Linked DNA regions of Homo sapiens: regions 1 and 2 are each linked to region 3. The links are contacts of gene promoters, found by promoter capture Hi-C in blood cells and fetal thymus (Javierre and others, 2016). All regions are on one chromosome and are shown on one strand. The core of a region is centred on a gene start or on the middle of the fragment in contact, and the rest is flanking DNA. Distances in the headings are between cores, read along the strand shown.

What was found. The method cuts DNA at HindIII sites, captures the fragments that hold promoters and counts their contacts. A CHiCAGO score of 5 or more calls a contact.
Region 1: a contact is called between a fragment that was not itself captured here and the fragment with the promoter of MFAP1 in region 3, in 1 of 17 cell types (endothelial precursors). The highest score is 5.5, in endothelial precursors.
Region 2: a contact is called between a fragment that was not itself captured here and the fragment with the promoter of MFAP1 in region 3, in 1 of 17 cell types (endothelial precursors). The highest score is 5.7, in endothelial precursors.

The regions. Positions count from the first base shown.
Region 1 is chr15:44,273,988-44,278,047 of GRCh38, reverse strand. No RefSeq gene overlaps it. Among named protein-coding and RNA genes, the nearest start is that of GOLM2, 13 kb to the left of the region's middle. The HindIII fragment of the contact is 897 bases long and covers 1,893-2,789 here.
Region 2 is chr15:44,219,844-44,224,168 of GRCh38, reverse strand. No RefSeq gene overlaps it. Among named protein-coding and RNA genes, the nearest start is that of FRMD5, 27 kb to the right of the region's middle. The HindIII fragment of the contact is 3,954 bases long and covers 1-3,344 here.
Region 3 is chr15:43,823,127-43,827,267 of GRCh38, reverse strand. MFAP1 (microfibril associated protein 1) reads left to right here and starts at 2,578. Exons shown (of 9, transcript NM_005926.3): 1 at 2,578-2,777. The coding sequence starts at 2,699. It overlaps WDR76 (WD repeat domain 76), which reads right to left and starts at 266. Exons shown (of 13, transcript NM_024908.4): 1 at 176-266. The coding sequence starts at 235. RefSeq lists a silencer at 238-297 and enhancers at 2,131-2,762, 2,515-2,774. The HindIII fragment of the contact is 28,469 bases long and covers 1-4,141 here.

The DNA of each region.
Region 1 (4,060 bases), core at 1,092-3,591, 450 kb before region 3:
TCAGGCTGTACTGCAGTGGTGCAGTCATAGCTCACTTCAGCCTCGAACTCTTAGGCTCAAGCGATCCTCCTGCCTCAGCCTCCCAAGCTAATTTAAAAAAATATTTTTTTGTAAAGACAGGATCTCACTATATTGCCCAAGCTGGTCTTGAACTCCTGGCCGTAAGCAATCCTCCTGTCTCAGCCTACCAAAGGGCTGGGATTACAGATGTGAGCCACTGTGTCCAGCTGAGTAATACTTTTCAGTGAAATTTTAAAAAATTCATCATCATGGCATTGTTATTGGAAGCCTACTTTGTTCAAGGATTTATATCATGGTGCATGCATTAAGTAATTAACAAATTAATTAATTACTCAAATATTTACTGTGTGCCTGCCATGTGACAATCTATAGTGTTGTAGGTGAGAGGAAGTGCGGAGGATACAGCAGAAATAGAAAGGTCCTCCTGAAGCTTCCAGTCTCTTCCTCCTTTACCAGTGCCCAACCAGGGGAACACTGTATTCAGTTTCCTCCTTGAGAACATTTTTCAACAGCTCCCATGCCCTGCTGCTCCCAAGTGATGGAAGTGACCACTATCTTACTGTGCCTGCATGATGTCCTCTAGTTTTCTATTGTAGCAGTTTATTTTGCTGACTCTACAGTAGACTTTTGGTAGATTTTTTTTTTTTGAGATGGAGTCTTGCTCTGTTGCCCAGGCTGGAGTGCAGTGGCACAATCTCGGCTCACTGCAACCTCTGCCTCCTGGGTTCAAGCAATTCTCCTGCCTTAGCCTCCTGAGTAGCTGGGACTACAGATGCGCACCACCATGCCCAACTAATTTTTTGTATTTTTAGTAGAGACGGGGTTTCACCATGTTGGCCATGATGGTCTTGATCTCCCAACATCGTGATCCACCCGCCTTGGCCTCCCAAAGTTTTGGAATTACAGGCGTGAGCCACCACACCCAGCTGGTAGATGTTTTTCTGCAGGACCACATTATAAGATAGTATGAGGTAGGCTGTGATTTTGTTTTGACACCACACCATTAGGCTTTTTTTTCCCCTTCTCCAATGCCTGCTCACTTCTTTCTTTTCCATTTATCTGAAACTTTTTTTTTGAGACAGTGTCTCACTCTGTCACCCAGGCTGGAGATCAGTGACACAATCATGGCTCACGGCAACCTCGACCTCCCTGGCTCAAGCAATACTCCTGCTTCAGCCTCCCAAGTAGGTGGGGACTACAGACACACACAACCACACCTGGCTAATTTTTAAATTTTTTGTAGAGACGGTGTCTTTCTGTGTTGCCCAGGCTGGTCTCAAACTCCTGGGCTCAAGCAGTCCTCCCGCCTCGGCCTCCCAAAGCATTGGGATTTACAGGCGTGAGCCATCGTGCCCAGCCTAAAACATTTTTAAAATACTCTCTTATTCATTTCATTCTTTTTTTCTTTATATCCTTGAATTATGGAATTTTAGAACAGGAAGGGAATTTAGAGATTACCTAGTCTAAAACTCCTATTTAATAGATGAAGATAAAAATCCAGAGAAGTATTGCGATTTAAAATTATTCTATTTGGCCAGGCGTGGTGGCTCACGCCTGTAATCCCAGCACTTTGGGAGGCTGAGGCAGGTGGATCAGGAGGTCAAGATATCGAGACCATCCTGGCCAACATGGTGAAACCCTGTCTCTACTAAAAATACAAAAATTAGCTGGGCATGGTGGTGCGCGCCTGTAGTCCCAGCTACTCAGGAGCCTGAAGCAGGAGAATCGCTTGAACCCAGGAGGCAGAGGTTGCAGTGAGCTGAGATTGTGCCACTGCACTCCAGCCTGGTGACAGAGCAAGACTCGGTCTCAAAAAAAAAAATTATTCTATTCTACCAGTCAAAGGCAGACATAGGATGAGAATACAAGCTTTCTTCAAGATCCAGCATAAATCCTCACCCTCTGAGAGCTTCTTCCAAATTCCAGCTCAGCTCACATATTTTTCATCTGAATTTTGCAATTATTGTCTACATCATTGCGTATATTATCTACATTTATTGTCTGCATCATTTTGGCAATAATCAGAGTATAATACTGCCTTGCACTGCTACTCAAGTCTTTCACATTGGTTTGACTTGACTCTCCAGTTAGCTGTAAACTCTGGAAAGCACAGATTTTTCACTTTTATTTTCTCTGCTGGCAGTTAATGATATTAAGCAGATATGTACTGAGTGAATTAATGGGCACATAGTAGGGATTCAAATATTTTTTGACTGATTAGTCATCACTTCTCACCTATCTTTTCAAAATATAGTGGTTCTTGTTCCTTAACATTTGCTTCTATTTCCATTGTAATTTTTAAAAACCATACTTAGATTTTTGGCAAGCAATGAAAAGATGGTCATGCCTCTGCACAGTCTGCTGCAATGTATTTTTTCTACACTTGGCAGAAAACCCAAGGTTTCTGCCCTATTTTTTGTTCTCTGCCCTGCAGTTCATCTAATCTTCTAGCTCATGGTGGCTTTCTCTGCTAGATATTGTTCTGAAGAGTGACCCAATTAAATATGGCCCCATTTGATGCAGTGGGACTTTATGTGGGGCTAGTTTCAGATGACCACCTTGTAATTTTCCGAACCTTTATTTATGTAGTTTTTTTTTTTTTCATTCCTCAGCACCTGCTGCAGATGCTAGTGTGCCATCACAATAAATCCTCCTGTGCTGACTTTCAGGCAGAAGACACAGCTGTGAGCAGAGCTGGTCATGTGTCATCTACTGCTTTTTAAGCAGATCCTCGTGTGTATCCATTGTCTGAGCTTTAAGTAGAAGCTTTTTTAACCTACATAGTTTTTCACTGAATCTGTTAGTTTCAGCATGCTGTTTGTGTTGTTTTCAGTAGTGCAATTCCTGATATCTATCAAGTAAACACCATTAAGGATTGAGCTCACTTCATGCTCCTGTTCAGGTGCTATGTTTTGATTTGTCGGTATCCCAGAGAAGCAGCCCATTGCATCCAAGGCCAGAACAGAAGGCAGCGATTGCAAAACATCATATTTTGTAGCAGGACGATGTAGTAACTTTGAAATACTGATCCTTATTAACATATTGGTGTGCACAATGCTTTCTTTTGGCATCTGAGTATTGATGGGATTATTTTAAATCCATATTAAAAATTACTCCAAAGCAGGCAGATTGCTTGAACCCAGGAGACCAGCCTGAGCAACATAGTAAAACCCATCTCTACAAAATATACAAAAATTTGCTGGACATGGTGGCCCATGCCTATGGTCCCAGCTACTTGGGAGGCTGAGGTGGGAGGATCATTTGAGCAAGAGGATGAGGCTGCAGTGAGCCATGATCACACCACTGTACTCCAGCTTTGGCGATGGGAGTGAGACCATGTCTCAAAAAATGAAAATAAAACAAATTACTGATATTTAACTGGGCACAGTGGTTCATGCCTGTAATGCCAACACTTTGGGAGGTTGAGGCGGGAGGATCATTTGAGGCCAGGAGTTCAAGACTAGCCTGGGCAACACAGTGAGACCCCATCTCTATTAAAAAAAATTTTTTTTTTGGCCGGGCATGGTGGCTCATGCCTGTAATCCTAGCACTTTGGGAGTCCAAGGCGGGAGGATCACAAGTTCAGGAGATCGAGACCGTCTTGGCCAACATGGTGAAACACCATCTCTACTAAAATACAAAAAATTAGCCAGGCGTAGTGGTGCGTGCCTGTAATCCCAGCTACTTGGGAGACTGAGGAAGGGGAATCTCTTGAACCCCGGAGGCAGAGGTTGCAGTGAGCTGAGATGGCGCAACTGCACTCCAGCCTGGTGACAGAACAAGACTCCATCTCAAAAACAAAAACAAAAACAAAAAACAACTTTGGGAGGCCAAGGCGGGTGGATCACCTGAGGTCAGGAGTTCAAGACCAGCCTGAACAACATGGTGAAACCCCATCTCAAAATACAAAAAAAAATTAGCTGGGCGTGGTGGCAGGCGCCTATAATCCCAGCTACTCTGGAGGCTGAGGCAGGAGAATTGCTTGAACCCAGGAGGTGGAGGTTGCAGTGAGCTGAGATTGCACTGTTGCACTCCAGCC
Region 2 (4,325 bases), core at 118-2,617, 400 kb before region 3:
GGGCAGTAGGAAGTAATTGGAGGTTTTAATAAGGGAAATGAGGAGGTCAGAATTATGTTTGTAAAAGCACATGTTGGCTTGGCGCGGGGCTCCAGTCTGTAATCCCAGCACTTTTGGAGGCCGAGGTGGGTGGATCACAGATCAAGAGATAGAGACCATCCTGGCCAACAGAATAGGCAGGAGAATCACTTGAACCCGGGAGGCAAAGGTTGCAGTGAGCTGAGATGGTGCCACTGAACTCCAGCCTGGGCGACAGCGTGAGACTCTGTCTCAAAAAAATAAAAATAAAAAAATAAAAGCACATGTTTGCTGTAATATGAATGTATCTGAGACACAAGAGTTTGTTATTTGTTTATTTTGGTGGGAGGTGGTTTTATTTGTTGTTTGCAATTATTCAGGCAAGAGACTGTGGTAACTTAGACCCTTAGATATTTGCATCCCCTACAAGGTCGAGTACAAGTGTTTGTTTCCAGTGTCATTAATAAATGTTTTTTGAACTGAAGTAAATTAATTGGCTCATAAGTATAAACTCCAAGACACTACAGTCATCAGGAACAAACACTTTTATTTTTTTTTTTGAGATGGAGACTCGTTCTGTCACCCAGGCTGGAATGCAGTGGTGTGATCTCAGCTCACTGCAAACTCCGCCTCCCAGATTCAAGCGATTCTCCTGCCTCAGCCTCCCGAGTAGCTGGGATTACAGGCACATGCCACCATGCCTGGCTACTTTTTTTTTTTTTTTTTTGAGACAGAGTTTCCCTCTTTTGCCCAGGCTGTAGTACAATGGCGCCATCCTGGCTCACCGCAACCTCCGCCTCCCAGGTTCAAGAGATTCTCCTGCCTCACCATCCCTAGTAGCTGGGATTAGAGGCATGTGCTACCATGCCCAGCTAATTTTGTATTTTTTCAGTAGGGTTTCTCCATGTTGACCTGGCTGGTTTCGAACTCCTGACCTCAGGTGATCTGCCCACCTCAGCCTCCCAAAGTGCTGGGATTACAGGTGTGAGCCACTGCGCCTGGCCTAATTTTTGTATTTTTAGTAGAGACAGAGTTTTGCCATCTTGGGCAGGCCGGTCTCAAACTCCTGATCTCAGGTTATCCACCCACCTCAGCCTCCCAAAGTTCTGGGATTACAGGTGTGAGCCACCCTGCCCGGCCATGGATCAAACACTTTTCTTTTTTTGAGACAGAGTCTCGCTCTGTCACCCAGGCTGGAGTGCAGCGGCGTGATCTCAGCTCACTGCAACCTTCGCCTCCCAGGTTCAAGCGATTCTCCTGCCCCAGCCTCCTGAGTAGCAGGGGGAACAAACACTTTTAAATACCTGGGCATTCTTCTCCAAGTGACCTCAGGTCTGTGATTCCAGGTTTCACTAAGTCCAGAGCAAATAATAATTTCTTCTCTAGTGGTCCCTGAAGATCCTGTATCAGGAAGAAAACACTGTAACTAAAACTACTGCCAGTCTCATTTTACAGGAAACTTCTCTATAAACGTCACTTGTTAAGTACTGGTGGAAATGACATTCCTTTCAGTTCAAGAAAGGAAGCTCATTCTTTCTCATTAGTTGCCTCCTGCTTTGGTTGCTAATGTTTCAATGTATGCAAATAAAATCTCTCCCTTACCTTACTTCATAAAACAACAGGTTATGCTTTTAATTTTTTGTGAGGTTAGAAAATCTGTCTAGGTGTAATATTTGGTAATCTTGTGTCAGATTACTTTTATGCTTAGTAATTTTTAAAATTTTCAAGATAGCCATTTATCATCAAAATGGGAAGTGTGTGTGGGTATGAATAAGCACGATTAAAGAAAACAGGCCATGGCCGGGTGCAATGGCTCATGCCTGTAATCTCAGCACTTTGGGGGGCCGAGGTAGGTGGATCACTTGAGGCCAGGATTTCGAGACTAGCCTGGCCAACATGGTGAAACCCTGTCTCTACTAAAAAAATATAAAAAATTAGCCGGGCATAGTGGCGCATGCTTGTAGTCCCAGCTACTCAGGAGGCTGAGGCAGGAGAATCGCTTGAACCCAGGAGACGGAGGTTGCAGTGAGCCAAGATCGTGCCATTGCACTCCAGCCTGAGCAACAAGAGTGAAACTCCATCTCAAAAAAGAAAAGGAAAGAACAGATGAGCAGATATTTAAGGAAAATAGCTAGTTATGAAGCATAATTATTCAGGACAGCTGTGAGATACACATGCGTGCACACACACACACACACACACACACACACACACACCTCTTCTTTCAGATACCAAATAGAGACATGATTAAGTTTCTTTTCAGTGTGACAAAGCAAAGTTGATCCCATTTCCTTCAAACCTACTCGGTTTTCTTATCTATAAAATGGAGATAATACTGTTTACTTCATGAGGCTGTAAGGATTAAATATGTTACATAAAATAACAAGTAAGTACAGTAAATGTTTAATCAATTAAATAATACATAGAAAAAATACTAAGATACTCTACATATCTAGACGCCTTCTCCATACAACCTTAAAGACTTGATATTATTAGGAATGTTTACATTATGAATTGGACTAAGGAACATTTTTAGACAAACTTGAAGTAGTTGCAATTAGTCTTTGGTTCACCTTCCTGCCCCTTTGTGTTCAGGTTCATCCTCTTCTGTATTCACATTCCTGGTGTCCACATGATGGTTTCTAATTGCTTGTTGCTTTCCTTTTTGCAGTCTATTCAGAACTTATTTCTCTGAAAGTATTTCATGACACAGTGTACTCCAAAATGAGGTGTCTTTTTTTCTAACTCTGTTTTTTGTTTTTGAGGCAGAATTTTGCTCTTGTTGCCCAGGCTGGAGTGTAATGGCACGACCTCGGCCTTCTGCAACCTCCATCTCCCAGGTTCAAGCAATTCTCCTTCCTCAGACTCCTCAGTAGCTGGGACTACAGGTGCACATCACCAGATCTGGCTAATTTTTTTGTATTTTTGGTAGATACAGGGTTTCACCATGTTGGCCAGGCTTGTCTCAAACTCCTGACCTCAAGTGATTCGCCCACCTTGGCCTCCTAAAGTGCTGGAATTACAGGTATGAGCCACCACACTCGGCCATTTCTAACTCTGTTTAAACTTTCAACCTCTTCAAAAGGCTCAACTTAGCTAGGCGTTAGGAAGCAAGTGCTCTTACTAAGCTAATTTGAATCAAAGCATTTGGTTAATTTAATCTTTACGCATATTTACAGTTGAGAAAGGACAGTCATTAACCCCAGTGACAATGATTTTGTAGTGGAATTTTAGGCTCTGTAAAGGAGATGTTTTTTAGGTCAGGCAATAATTTAACTGGCAGTAATTCTCAATCTTAGTTGCACTTTGGAATCATTTGAGAAGCTTTTAAAAGATGCCTATTGCCGAGACCCACCCCCAGAGAGTCTAATATAATTGGTCTGGGGTGAGGATCAGAAAGTGGAATTTTTAAAGCTCCCCAGATGGATTCTAATGTGCAGCTATGTTTAAGAACTATCAGGTTAGAATAACCCTGTTTTGATTTAACCTCATTACTAAAAGGTTTTCATTTTTCTATTATGTGAGTCACATACACATTGATTACTATACCTGACAAAAGAAGGTTGGGAAAAGTTTAATGGGACAATATAGAGCATTAATTGTAATTTAAGTGTCATCAAATTCACCTCCCACATTTTACTAATGAAGAAAAAAATTCAAATGGTTAAACTTACAGAGATAGTTAGAGGTGGAGCCAGGGCAAACTTTAAATGACTTAAACAATAGAATATTTTTTAGGATATATTAAAATATCCTAGATTTTTTTTCACTTTTTGAAATTTAATTTAATTAATTTTCTAACGGGCTAAATTTATTTTAAAATAAGAGTCATTCATGCAAATGGCAAAATTCAAACAATTCAAAAAAGTACAAAGTAGAAAAGCACAGGTTAAGGCCAGGCGCGGTGGCTCATGCCTGTAATCCCAGCACTTTGGGAGGCTGACGCGGGTGGATCACCTGAGGTCACGAGTTCGAGACCAGCCTGGCCAACATGGTGAAACCCCGTCTCTACCCAAAATACAAAAATTAGCTGGGCGTGGTGGCAGTTGCCTGTAATCCCAGCTACTCGGGAGGCTGAGGCAGGAGAATTGCTTGAACCTGGGAGGTAGAGGTTGCAGTGAGTCGAGATAGTGCCATTGCACTCCAGCCTGGTGGACAAGAGTGAGACTGCCTCTCCAAAAAAAAGAAAAAAAAAAAAAAAAAAGCAGAGGTTACTTTTCTTTGTTGCCATTTCTGCCACAAAGAATATAACTATTGTCTTCCACAAGGCGGCAGTATTGCTTACTCTTCAACAATCTCCCCATGGC
Region 3 (4,141 bases), core at 1,329-3,828:
CACTATTTCTCGGGTTATTGATAAGAACCTTTCGTCAAAGCTGAAGGCCTAAGGGCAGGGATCCCCCGCCTACCCCCGGTGCCAGGTGCCCTCGACCTCCTGGGCCTGTGTCCCGCATAACCCTCACAAAAACCGAGGCAGGAGCACACCTTGGAAGCACCAGTCCGTTTCTCACCTTCATCTGGGGTCGCTGTCTGGAGTCCGCCTTCTCAGCCGCCGCGCCCGACCTGGACATCTTTCGGCTTCTTAGCGGCCGGCGCCTTCCCGCCAAGATTGCGGCGGGAGGCCGGGAGGGGCGGGTCCGAGGCGGGGCGGAGCCCACTCAGATCCCCAGCGGCCGCAGCGCCAGAGCAGGAAGTTGGGGTTTTACGCGCGCTTCTTAAGAAGGCCGCCTTGGCCAGGCGCGGTGGCTCCCGCCTGTAATCCTAAGCACTTTGGGAGGCTGAGGCGGCGGATCACCTGAGGTCAGGAGTTTGAGACCAGCCTGGCCAACATGACGAAACCCCGTCTCTACTAAAATTACAAAAATTAGCCGGGCTTGGTGGCGCGTGCCTGTAATCCCAGTTACTCAGGAGGCTGAGGCAGAATTGCTTGAACCCAGGGGGCAGAGGTTGCAGTGAGCTGAGATCGCGCCATTGCACTCCAGTCTGGGCAACAAGAGTGAGACTCCGTCTCAAAAAAAAAAAAATGCTGTCTTAAAGCCCTAGACTCAAATTCTTTAGGGATGTCCTGGGGCTGAACTGACATTTTTACCTTTGACTGGTGATTTTGATTCTGGTGGTACTGGGATGTCGCTTTGAAAAACACTAACAGGCCGGGAGCGGTGGCTAACGCCTGTAATCCCAACACTTTGAGAGGCCGAGAGGAGTGGATCACTTGGGCCCAGGAGTTCCAAACCAGCCTGGGCAACATAGTGAGACCCCATCTCTATAAAAAATACAAAAATTAGCCCAGCGTGGTGTTGTACGTCTGTAGTCCCAGCTACTCAGAAGGCAGGGGTGGGAAAATGGCTTGAACCTAGAAGGATGAGGCCACAGTGAGCCGTGATTGCGCGGAACTCCAGCCTGAGCGACAGAGCAAGACCCTCTTCTATAAATAATAAAATAAGATTCTGGCTATTCTCTTTAAGGTTCCTTCTAGCCCAAAACTGTTTCCTTGGTTGCTTAGTTGGGTCCCACACTGTTCCTTGCCTGAGATTTGTCCAGTTTCATTTCTTCTCCCACTCAAGGCCCAATTGTAGAACACAGGTGAAGTAATTTGGGTTAATCATATTAATAGCAACTTCAAGGCCCCTCATGACTCAAAAATTACTGATAAAACCAAACTTTTCATGGTGTCCTGTATAAAACATACTGTTTCTGGACTTTAAGACTTTGTTCCTACTGTCCCTTGTCTCCCCCGCAGTTATAAAGTCCTTTCTACTGTGAAATGTGTCCTGACTTTCCAATTAGCCAATATTATATATATTTTTTAACACGACTCAGCTTGTAAATTGGAGCTGCTTCTGTTATTATCCTGTAAGTCCTTAAAGAGTTCTTAAATAGGCCGGGTGCGGTGGCTCACCTCTGTAATCCCAGCACTTTGGGGAGGCCGAGGTAGGTGGATCATCTGAGGTCAGGAGTTCAAGACCAGCCTGGGCAACATGGCGAAACCCTGCCTCTACTAAAAATACAAAAATTAGCCGGGAGTGGTGGCCCACGCCAACACTCAGCACTGTGGGAGGCCGGAGTGGGCGGATCACTTAAGCCTGGCCAACATGGTGAAACCTCGTCTCTACTAAAAATACAAAAATCAGCAGGGAGTGGTGGCAGGCGCCTGTAATCCCAGCTAATCAGAAGGCTGAGGCACGAGAATTGCTTAAACCCGGGAGGTGGAGACTGCAGTGAGCTGAGATCGAGCCACTGCACTCCAGCCTGGGTGACAGAAAAAGACAGTCTCAAAAGAATAATAATTACTTAGATATTTAAATACAAACATTTTCTAGCCAGGAATGTATTTTAATAGGTAGTTTCCAGAAACTGGAAAAACCTGAAAGCCTAAAAAAGTGGAGTTTTGGGATTTCAGGTGGGCAATGTCCCAGGCACCTCGGGAGTTTTTTTTTTTTTTTTTTCGGTCACTGGCCTAAATCAGCACCACCTGCCCTGTGAAACCAAATACCGCACCACAGCCCACCCTGGCCTTATGAACTAAGCTAATCGGATACTACTGGCAAGATTTTTATTCCATCAAACTCTACTTCTTCTGAGCTTTCAACAAGCCATTCAAACAGTAACTCACTGTCGCCTGAGTTTCTTATTCACTATACCGTTCTTGGCTTCAAACCAAGCTAACACGTAAAATCTTTCATTCGAACCTTCCTCACCGCAGAGTCCTAACAGCAAAGCCCAAAGGAAGCAAAATTTCCCGCCAAAAGCTGCTTCCAAATTCTGCGACGTAGAGGACATGCGGGCAGCCAATGAGCATGCGCAGAAACCGACTCGACTTCCTAGCTGTGGGCGCCCAAACGTCGTCCACCATCCCACAATCCTCTCGTCACGTATTTCCGGTTTATCTAGCTCAGCCGTAAGTAGTTTCTCTATCAGTCGCGCAGCTGTGTTCGCGGACTCAGGTGGAAGGAATTTCTTCTCTTCGTTGACGTTGCTGGTGTTCACTGTTTGGAATTAGTCAAGTTTCGGGAATCACCGTCGCTGCCATCAACATGTCGGTCCCAAGCGCTCTCATGAAGCAACCGCCCATTCAGTCTACGGCTGGGGCCGTCCCAGTTCGCAATGAGAAAGGTACGGTGCTAACACCCTCTTCCCAGTCGAATTTTAACCCCTTCCGGCCCCAGCAACCTCCAGACCTCTCCCGGACAGACCACTCCAACCCCGCCAGCTCTTGAGATCTGGCTGCCAGATTCTTCGATCTTTCCACCCCCACCCACTTGCATCCGATCTTGTTCCTGTGGCCTGCTCTCGTATTCAGCAAGCACCTCTCTTCTGTTAGCCTCCACAAATTCCTTAGACTAATGTTACATATATATAATATATATTACACATATAAAAACATTAGGAACTTAAGTATATATCAGAATATATATGTCTAATATATATATGCTAGAATATATGTATTAGTCTAATATATATTATGATTAGAATATAATATCACTAATTACATATAATTACAAGAATTTATGTATTATTAGTGTAATTACTTAGGAACTTAAGTATATTATTAATCTAATAATTAGGAACTTAAGTATATATCAGAATATGTATATAATATCAGACTAGATAGATAGATAGAGAATGCCTGTTGGCAGGGCATTGTGCGGGATACAGTCCCTCTTTTGCTGTCCATAGAAGTCTGCTTATGCTGCCCAGGCTGGACTCGAATTCCTGGGGCTCAGGCTGTCCTCCTGCCTCAGCCTCCCGAGTAGATGCCGCCGTATCTAGTCTCAACATGGCTTTTGAGAATTATCTTTGGATCCCTATACATCTAATTCATTCATCTTAACAGCTTATGAATTCCATTGTATAAAATAAACTGTAATCCACACTTTATTCCCTACTGAGAGGCAGGTGGTTGTCCCCTTGTTCAAAAAAGTGCTGCGGCCAGGCACGGTGTCTTATGCCCATAAACCCAGCACTTTGGGAGGCTGAGGCGGGCTGAACACCTGAGGTCAGGAGTTCAAGACAGCCTGGCGATCATGGCGAAACCCCGTCTCTACTAAAAATACAAAAAATTAGCCATGCATGGTGGTGGGTACCTGTAATCCCAGCTACTTGGGAATCTGAGGCAGGAGAATTGCTTGAACCCGGGAGGTGGAGGTCGCAGTGAGCAGAGATCGCACCATTGCACTCCAGCCTGGGCCACAGTGTGAGACACTCTCTCAAAAAAAAAAAAAGAAAGTTCTGCAATTGTCATTCTCTAGCCAATACTAGCTTTATTTAGTACCTGTTGCCAATTGCTCCCCAAAGTAAGTTATAAGAACATAAGAATTTGTGGAGCACAGTGGCTTACACCTGTAATCTCAGCACTTCGGGAGGCTGAGGCAGGAGGATCGCTTGAGGCCAGGAGTTCAAGACCAGCTTGGGCAACATAGCGAGACCACCCCCCACCCCCGCCAATCTCTGCAAAAATAAAAATTAGGGCCCGGCGC